Linked DNA regions of Homo sapiens: region 1 is linked to region 2. Evidence: promoter capture Hi-C in human tissues and cell types (Jung and others, 2019). All regions are on one chromosome and are shown on one strand. The core of a region is centred on a gene start or on the middle of the fragment in contact, and the rest is flanking DNA. Distances in the headings are between cores, read along the strand shown. Region 1 has its middle 52 kb from the start of LINC02948. Region 2 holds the start of MBOAT4 (membrane bound ghrelin O-acyltransferase MBOAT4).

What was found. The method cuts DNA at HindIII sites, captures the fragments that hold promoters and counts their contacts. A contact is called where the count stands out against the background at its distance.
Region 1: a contact is called between a fragment that was not itself captured here and the fragment with the promoter of MBOAT4 in region 2, in 1 of the 25 tissues and cell types used here (spleen).

What each region holds. Positions count from the first base shown.
Region 1 is chr8:29,611,874-29,616,969 of GRCh38, forward strand. No RefSeq gene overlaps it. Among named protein-coding and RNA genes, the nearest start is that of LINC02948, 52 kb to the left of the region's middle. The HindIII fragment of the contact is 3,374 bases long and covers 1,582-4,955 here.
Region 2 is chr8:30,141,578-30,146,168 of GRCh38, forward strand. It overlaps MBOAT4 (membrane bound ghrelin O-acyltransferase MBOAT4), which reads right to left and starts at 3,088. Exons shown (of 3, transcript NM_001100916.2): 1 at 2,906-3,088. The coding sequence starts at 3,024. The HindIII fragment of the contact is 8,892 bases long and covers 1-4,591 here.

The DNA.
Region 1 (5,096 bases), core at 2,019-4,518, 530 kb before region 2:
ACTCCTTGAGCACATTGTAGATTTTTTTCCTGCTTATATACATATGTACACAAGAAAACACCGCAATATGCAATATACAGAAAATGTATGCAATATAATTTTGGTAGAAATTTTGACTTAATCCTACAGAAACTATTTCTTGAGAGATTATTACATACCACTTCCTACATCCAATGTGCCTTGAGCTAAAACTGTGAACAAAACCAACATTGATTTCGCTTCATGGAGCTCACACTAAGTGGAAAATGCAGATCAGCAAAAAGGCAGGAAAGGGGGACTGTGATTAGGAAGGGATCCCTGAGAGGTTGGGTGGGGATAATCATAGAGGGCAGCTTGGAGGAAGAACTGTTGTCTAGAGGAAAACCTGAAGGTGAGAGGATTTAGGGATCACACTTGTTGGCATGCCAGGTTGATTTCCTGTTGGTTTCTGTGTGCTGTTTCCTGGGCTCGGAAAGCCCCCAACACCTTGCTGTATCCACATTCTCATCTCCTCTCCCCGTTGATCTCTTGGTCATCTTTTCCTTCTGGGGGCAAGTGTCACCCCTTCAGAAACTCCCTTTCATCCAGAACAGACAAGAGGTCTTTACTCTGGGTCCCTATCAAGTTTTGTTCATCCTTTATTATAACCATTATCATATGCTAAAAATACATGCTTGCCTCCCTGTCTTCTCCAGTAGCTTTCAAGCTCTTAGAAAACAGGGACTTTGTCCTACTCATGTACTTGTGGACATAGTACCAGGTACAGGGCAGGCATTAAATCAATGTTGATATTTGCTGAATGCAGTGACTGGCATTGGGGTACCCTACAGCTCTCCTCACGCTGTCTCTAAACCACCTTTTCTCCTCCGGATTACATTTGAAGCCCCTCATTTGTAAGAGTCACTATTAGTAAAAACCTTAGGGTTGCCTCATCAAGAGAATGAGAAAGAAAATCTGTCAGAAGAGTAGACAGTCACCACCAGGGTAGGCATGTGGCTGCCTCATGCAGGGCCAGGGCCAGGGCCATGGCTGTGCCTTTCTTCTCTCCCAAGCTAGAGAAGAACGGAGGCTGCGGACTGCCCCCAGCGAATCCCAGTGCCCACATCATCCTGTGGAGAAGCCTTGACTACCCCCAAGCTGAGTCCTGACGGGACAGACGAGTGAGATCCAACTTCCCTTGCACTTCTGGTGATTTATATTGGACTAGAGTCTTCACCAGGGAACCTGTGGACCAAAATCAAAAATTATTTGAAAATTCTGAAGCCAGGCAAACATTTGTGGGTAGCGTGAGAAGAAAAAGATGAACTGTCTGTGCGGAGCAAAGAGAAATGTGCCCTGCTTCCTGATTGGGTGGTCGTGGTGATGGTGGGGCCATCTTTGAAAGAAGAGACTGCTGCTCAGAGCCTTCTGTGTTCTTGATTGCACTGTTCTATTAGCTAAATCATAAGAATTTTTTTAAAGCTTGTTTTTAATACTTAACTGGTACATTAGAACTAGTTTTATTTATCTAGAGATTTTAAAAGGCCCAAAGGCCACAGCCAGCTGCATCGTCCTTGTTGGAATGGATTAGTTTCCCTGTTTATTCATTTCCTACTCACATGTTAAGAGTTGTCCTTTCCATTTGAAAAGTATCTACGTCCACAGTAACTGCCCAGGATTGGCAAACTCCACTGGAGACGCAGCATGTGGAAGAGGAATTAGCTTAACTGGCTGTCCTTGTTAACATTGCCCCAGTTGTCATAAGCTTTTGTCTACCACATATTATCTGTGATATGGAGACAGAAGTCTCACTTCTTTCTGAGCCTGGCTTCTGTCTGTGCTAGGTAACTTTTTGCACTATTCTATTGAGAAGTGAAGCCAGTTGGACTTCCAGGGTCCAGTGGGGACTTGGAGAACTTTTCTGTCTTACAAGAGGATTATAAAATGCACCAATCAGCACTCTGTAGTTAGGATTGTAAAACGCACCAATCAGCACTTTGTGGCTAGCTAGAGGTTTGTAAAATGCGCCAATCAGTGCTCTGTAAAAATGCACCAATCAGCGCTCTGTGTCTAGCTAGAGGTTTGTAAAATGGACCAATCAGCACTCTGTAAAATGTACTAATCAGCAGGACATGGGCGGAGACAAATAACGGAATAAAAGCTGGCCACACCCAGCCAGCAGCGGCTACCCGCTTGGGTCCCCTTCCACTGTGTGGAAGCTTTGTTCTTTTGCTCTTCACAATAAATCTTGCTGCTGCTCACTTTTTGGGCCCGTACCACCTTTAAGAGCTGTAACACTCACCCTGAAGGTCTGTGGCTCCATTCCTGAAGTCAGCGAGACCGCGAACCCACTGGAAGGAAACAACTCTGGACACAATATCTATGCCCTCAGTCATTCCAGCAAACTTGTTCGGTATGGACATTTCTTAAATGGAAATAGCTACTGGCTGGGCGTGGTGGCTCAAACCTGTTAATCCCAGCACTTTGGGAGGCCAAGGCAGGTGTATCGCTTGAGCCCAGCGTGGGCAATGTAGTGAGACCCTGTCTCTACAAAAAATAAAAAATATAATATTTTAAAATGGAAAGACCTAGGTGCAGCGACTTGGCCTAGAGTTGAAAAGCACTTGAATGTCAGGTAGATGGTGATGTCAAATGGAGAAAATGCATTTTCCTTCCTCACTCCCTTGGACCTCAGTGTTCTTATGTGTCAAATGCAGATATTGAGGGAGGAATCTTCTAGAGTTATTTTCAGATTCTGATGTTCTCGAATCTCTCTAAGCTTTGTATCATCATAAACAGTACTTCCTGTTGGAACAGGTGCAATTCTTGCTGTGGCAATACCTATACCAGGGAAGAAACTGAAAATCCCCCAGAGTCCCCAGCTTGTCAAGGAGGCAGGGAAAAGAGCTCTCTTGACTGAGACTCCGGAAATGAGTCATGCACACTGCACCCTGGAGGACACATCTTGAACCAGGGATGAGGGGCCCATCCTGTACAGGGGACAGAAGTGGGGAAGGTGCTTGAGCTTTTTCTGCACCTGTCCCTTAGACGTTCTCCCTACTCCTGGATGCCCAAGGACACCATTAGAAAATGGGCTCCCCACACACTCTCCTAATCCCTGTAAGGAAGAGAAACTCCTGGAGGGGGGATTGAGTTGGGTAACAGGGGAGGGAGAAGCCTGTTCTGAGCAGAGAGGAGGTTAATTAAAGGGGAACCAAAAATAGCCTCCTTCTGGGTGCTGTTCATGGCTCCAAGAAAAGGGGCAGTCAGTGTCTGGAACACAGCAGAGAAGTGGAAAGGAGGGCTGACTTTGGAAATGGGTATTACTCGGGAATGCTTGTATTGAAGGTGGGGGAAGATGGGGTCTTGTGAGTCTTTGCCTTCTTCTCTCCTCACATGGTGGATCAGGGTTGGATTAGGGCAAGTGGTATCAGGCGCTCTACTTGTCCCCTGGGACCTAATGGGATTCCAGAAAGACAAGTGAACCCAGCTGGAGATGTGTGCGTGCCTGGCTGTACTCTACCTATGCCAGCACCCCCGGAAGTGGAGGGGGCCATTCAGCCTCTGATAGTCATGTGCTCCTCTGAAAGTTAAGCTGGGCTTTACATGAGGCAAAAATAAGATGATTGAGTAGAACGAGGGAGGGGGTTTTAGTACATTGCCCAAATCCCTAGAGGCGAAGGCATTTAGCAATGTCCATTGCTAAAGGAATCTGCTCTTCAACAAAATAAGGTCATTCTTAAACATCTTTATTGAGTGCCTACTGAATGCTTGGACAATGGACAAAGATGCTTATAAAAAAACTTTTCTGTGGGCCCTAAAGCATGCTCTCTGGGTCTGCCGGCCTGATCCAAGCTCATTAAAATTCCAGATGTCGGAAGGAGGCTGTGCTCCATCCCATGACTTAAGCCCCCCTTGGTTAGTTCAAAGCAACCTCTGCTGCCCTCATGGAAAGTGCCAGGTTCATGCCCTCAGCTGCACTTCAGTGCAGAAGGGTGCCAGGTGGGTCTGACTCCAGGGCATGGTGAATTTTCTTAAAGCAAAGGGTACTTGAGCCCCCATTGTGTGTGTGAATCCTCAGAAAATGTGTGTGTGTGTTTTTTTTTTTTTGAGGATAGTGTTTGTAGCTTTTACCAGATTTAAAGAAAGAAAGAAAGAAGAAAAGGAAGGAAGGAAGGAAAAGAAAGAAAGAAAGAAAGACAGAAAGAAAGAAAGAGAAAGAAAGAAAGAAAGAGAAAGTAAAAAAGAAAAGGAGAAGGAAGAAAGGAAGGAAGGAGAGAGAAAGAAAAAGAAAGAAAGAAAGGAAGGAGAGGGAAGGAGGGAAGGAGGGAAGGGGAAGGGAAAGGGGAAGGGAAGGGAGGGAAAGGCAAGGGAAGGGAAGAAGAAAGAAAAAGACATGGGAGGGGAGGAGAGAGGAGAGGAGAAGAGGGGAGGGGAGATCAAGCCGCTTTCCCAGGTCCACCAGCTGCTTCACAGCTCAGGGGCAGGGTGGAGCCATTCCTTGTTAGGTCTCTGCTGTCACTTTTCTTATCCTACATACTTTTCTAAAAGCAGGGAACTGTACAATCCCTCCTGCCGGCTTAGCCATCTGAAGGCTCTTTCTTGACTGCATATCCATTCATTGCCATGGAGGGGGAATACCAGAAGAAAAAATCACCAGGTCGACCCTTGCTCCCTGTCTTCAAAGGAGATGTCTCCAACAGACTTCCTTTAGGGCCGGGGGGCTTGTGGCTTTGGCCAGCCATTGTGCAAGCAAAGAAATAACTCCAAAGCTTAGCTCCTGAAAGCAGGGAGCAGAGGGAAGCCATTGCAGTGTCTGGAAAGAGGGCGAGGTCCCCTCTTTTCTGGGTAAGGAAGTGGGAGTGGGGGTGTGAAGCTGGCTGGGACCATAATCTCCATGGAAGAAACGTCAAGCTCTCTAAGGGGTGTATTACCTTTCTGCTGTTAGTTCTAGCCTTTTTCCTGTTTTTTTAAAACTCCAAAACCCATTGATTTTCTTTTACCACTGATGGATGTGTTTGCTAATTTGCTAATAATATTGCCTTCTACTGACAGGAAGGAACTTGTATTTGGTTACTTAATTTTGTTTCAGATGTCAGCCCTGTAGGAGGTGGGGGTGTCTGGACATTGATGAATTG
Region 2 (4,591 bases), core at 1,838-4,337:
CAGTGAGCTGAGATCGCACTGCTGCATTCCAGCCTGGGTGACAGAGAGAGACTCTGTTTCAAAAAGAAAAGAAAAGAAAGAAAAGAAAAGCGAAAATAAAAGAAAAGAAAAAAGGACTCACTGGTCCTTTTGACTCGCTGGGAAAGCGACTCAAAGAAGCCTAGGATTTCTCTACCAGCTCAGAACCAGGAAACACCATTGCAAGGCAAATGTGTGTCACGGCTCCGGGCACAGTGCCAAGTACAGGTTAGCAAGAACCACTTTTTTCCTTGGGGGAGAGCGTTAAGTGTCTCAGTGTGAGAGCATCTATGACTCAAAAGCCTGGACCATTCTTGTGCTTCTCTTTGAACCTATGCTTGGGGTGACTTCCCCCCTCAACACCCCAGTTAACATTGTGGTCCAAGCCTTTACTTCCCTGCTATGGGAAAACAAAAGGGGGAACATTTATCCTTTACACAGCAACACTCCCACCCACAGGCAACTCCCCTAGGAGATTTATAAACATTAAATTGTCTGTACATGGACAATGTAGAATGTGTGACTTAGCAATGTGTGACTTAGCGATTGCATATTTCATTCTAGGCATAGTGCTAATAACCCTTTACGAGAAATATATTTATTTAATACTTAAAATAACCCCATGAGATAGGCATTATGTTTTCTGTTCTACAGATAAGAAGAGGGCATTTGGGTGAAGTATATTGATATACACAAGGACACTTAGTTAGGTGAGGGAGTCAAGACTCAACAGGCTGAATCCAAAGTGAGAAGTCTTTTTTATTTTATTTTTATTTTTTTGACAGAGTCTCTCCCTGCTGCCCAGGCTGGAGTGCAGTGGCATAATCACGACTTACTACAACCTCAACCTCTTGGGCTCAAGGGATCCTCCTGCCTCAGGCTCCTAAGTAGCCGGGACTACAGGCATGTACCACCACACTTGGCTAATTTTTTGTACTTTTTGTAGAGACAGGGATTTTGTCATGTTGCCCGGGCAGGTCTCAAACTCCTGGGCTCAAGCTATCCACTTGCCTCTGCCTCCCAGTTACTGGGATTACAGGTGTGAGCCACTGCATCCAGCCAGAAACTGAGCAATCTTCACCCTAAGGTAACTCCATGAGGATTAATCCTTATTTTTGCACTCATGTTGCTTTATTGTTTTGAGAATCTTTCTCAAAAGGAAACTTCTTTACAGCTGTCCCCCAACTCCAATCTCCATTAGTGAAGTTAAGGGCCATGAGACAGTTGTGAACACTTGATCATACCATTGTTTAATCAAATTCCACAATCCTAACTGATCGTTAGATACAGCTATATTTTATTTAAGAATCCCAATATATAAAAATCCTAATTCCCAAAATAAGTGAATTATTAGGAAGTGGCCCTTTGGCAACAGATTTTCACTTTACAAAAGGACATTCCACAAAACCTTGTTAAAAATAGGGACTGTCAGGGAAAAAGGGTTGAAAAACTAACTCTTGGGTACTGTGCTCACTACCTGGGTGATGGGATCAATCATACCCCAACCCTCAGCATCATACAATATACCCACGTAACAAACCTACACATGTACCCCTTGAATCTAAAATAAAAATTGGAATTATTTTTAAAAATGTATTTCAAATTAGCTGGGCATGGTGGTGTGCACCTATAGTCCCAGGTACTGGGGAGGCTGAGGCAGGAGAATCCCTTGAATCCAGGAGGTGGAGGTTGCAGTGAGCCGAGATCGTGCCACTGCACTCCAGCCTGGGCGACAGAGCGAGACTCCGTCTCAAAAAAAAAAAAAAAAAAAATATATATATATATATATATATATATATATATATAAAAATAAATAAAATAAAAAATGTATTTGCGACTTTTCAATTTAACAGAAAATCATGTAGCCATGTTAACAGTACACTCACCATTTCTGTTCTATGTTCAGTTAAGTTCTTGCCTTTTGACTATGTTAAAAACATAAAATCTTATATGAGCAATCTAAAAAAATAGGTGCTGTCTCTAATGTGTTGAGGTTATTTGATATTTAAAAAATCATTACAATCAAGTCATCACATCTCTAGTGATAATTTTTGAACTTCAAATTATCATATAGCTAATCTAACAAGATTCATTTTGACTTATTTCATTTCTCTGAGAATTCATATAAAGGCACTTTAAAAATCACATTTAGTTATAATAAAACTTATACTGATGTAACTTTATATAAAATTTAATTTGATTGAAAATGATAAAATTCCATAAAATTAGGACTATTCAAGAATATCTGAGATCCATGGTTGACAGAGATGTATCCATTTGGAGAATTCCTGTACCATCGCAACAACCATCTCTCCTGAGAGTTTATTTTCACTCATCTGCCATTTAACCTGAACCCAGCAAACCTTACATCAGTGCAGGAAGGATGTGAATTTCCAGTTTAGTTTTACTCTGTTATATATATTCATTATCAAATATCAATAATCAGTGACAGTGAGAGTAAGTTAAAAACAAGTGTAATTAATATATTGTAATCTTCACATCTGCAGTCTACTCTGCTTTTTGCCCTACTATAGTATTTCTGAATTTTTTTTTTTTTTAGATAGAGGCTTGCTCCGTTGCCCAGGCTGGAGTGCAATGGCGCCATCTCGGCTCACTGCAACCTCCACCTCCTGGGCTTAAGCAGGTCTCCTGCCTCCCTCCCGAGGAGCTGGAACTACAGGCATGAGCCACCATGCCCAGCTAATTTTTTTTGTATTTGCATTAGAGACAGGGTTTCGCTATGTTGGCCAGGCAGTTCTCAAACCCCTGGCCTCAAGTGATCTGCCCGCCTCAGCCTCCCAAATTGCAGGGATTACGGGCGTGAGCCACCGCACCCAGTCACTATAGTATTTCTGGATGTAAGAGTAAAAATAGCCATCCAGCCTACCTGGCACGAGTGGAGAATGAATCCATGATGCAGAGATAATTGAAGAGAAGTGCAAAGGGAAATGCAGCCCCCTGGTAAAACGATATAGGATGGAGAAAGAACAGCCAAAGCCACTCCATTAGGAACCAGAACAAAAGAGCCTGTCTTTTCCAGTGTCCTTAACTGATGCCTTCCTCCAAGAGTAATCTCAACCAGGCTGTCTCTGGTCTTTTTATCTGGTTTAGCGGGGCTAGGGTGAGCAAAAGGCAAACAAAAGCTCTGGAGATAAGCAGAATAAAAACTGGCTTTCTGATTGAGGAACTGCACTATGGAAACCAAAACACATTTTGGTGTAACATTAATCATGACATGCACTAAAAACATTGCTTTTGGAAGCGTGGTTTTGTTTCATTGACATAGTATACTATTTACCTTTCCAGTCATCATGCTGTCGTATTTTCTTCACTAAGTTAATGAAAAATCTCATTTCCCAACTGTGGACAGACAACTCTGTGGACTGAAAAGGGGAAACAAGAATGTGACCAGGAGGAAGGGAAGCAGGTTCTTTTCTTTTTCTTTTTTTGAGATAGGGTCTGGCTCTGTCACCCAGGCTGGAGTGCAGTGGCACAACCTTGGCTCACTGCAACCTCTATCTCCCCAGCTCAAGTGATCCTCCCACCTCAGCCTCCTGAGAAGCTGGGGCTATAGGCATGTGCCACCATGCCCAGCTAATTTTTATATTTTTTTTATAGAGATGGGGTTTTGCCATGTTGGCCAGGCTGATCTCAAACTCCTGGTGTCAAGCGATCCTCCTGCCTCAGCCTCCCAAAGTGCTGAGATTATAGGCATAAGGAACTGCACCCAGCTGGAGGCAGGTTCTTAAGGCAAAAACCAAGATTCCCCTTCCTCACCACAACTCTCCTCCTTATGCTACTTTTTTTCGTATCAGTACCTCTTATGTATCTATTTCTCAATTCATTTTCCTGCCCCCTTTACAACATGAGCTCTACAAGGGAAAGACTTTGTTTTGTTGATTACTGTATCCGTAGCACATAGAACACTGCTGAATACATACTATATACCCAGTAAATATTTGTTTAAAAGATTTTGAGGAGGCTGGCTGTGGTGGCTCATGCCTGTAATCCTAGCACTTTGGGAAGGCGAGGTGGGTGGATCATCTGAGGTCAGCAGTTCAAGACTAGCCTGGCCAACATGTGAAACCCTGTCTCTATGAAAAATGCAAAAATTTAGCTGGGCATGGTGGTGGACACCTGTAATCCCAGCTACTCAGGAGGCTGAGGCAGGACAATCACTTGAACCCAGGGGGCAGAGGTTGCAGTGCGCTGAGATTATGCCGCTGCACTCCAGCCTGGGCAACAAGAGTGAAACTCCGTCTTGGAAAAAAAAAAAAAAGGTTTTGAGGATATCAAAGTGTAGAGGGGAAACATTTCAAGAGAATCTTTTCTTGACAAGTAATACAGAAGAGACTTCCTAGAGGCAAGACATCTCTTGGCTAGTAGCGATCCATCTCCTGAGCCCAGGGCATTCCAGGGCTGTCCCTGATCAGTTGTTTTCCCTCTCCAAAGTCACTTGCATGAGCAAGTTGTCAATAAAGGACAGGAAAATCTGACATGAGCATCTTCAGGGCAAGGACCATCTTTTAGTGAGAGACTGTATTCGTCCGTTTTCACACTGCTATAAAGAACT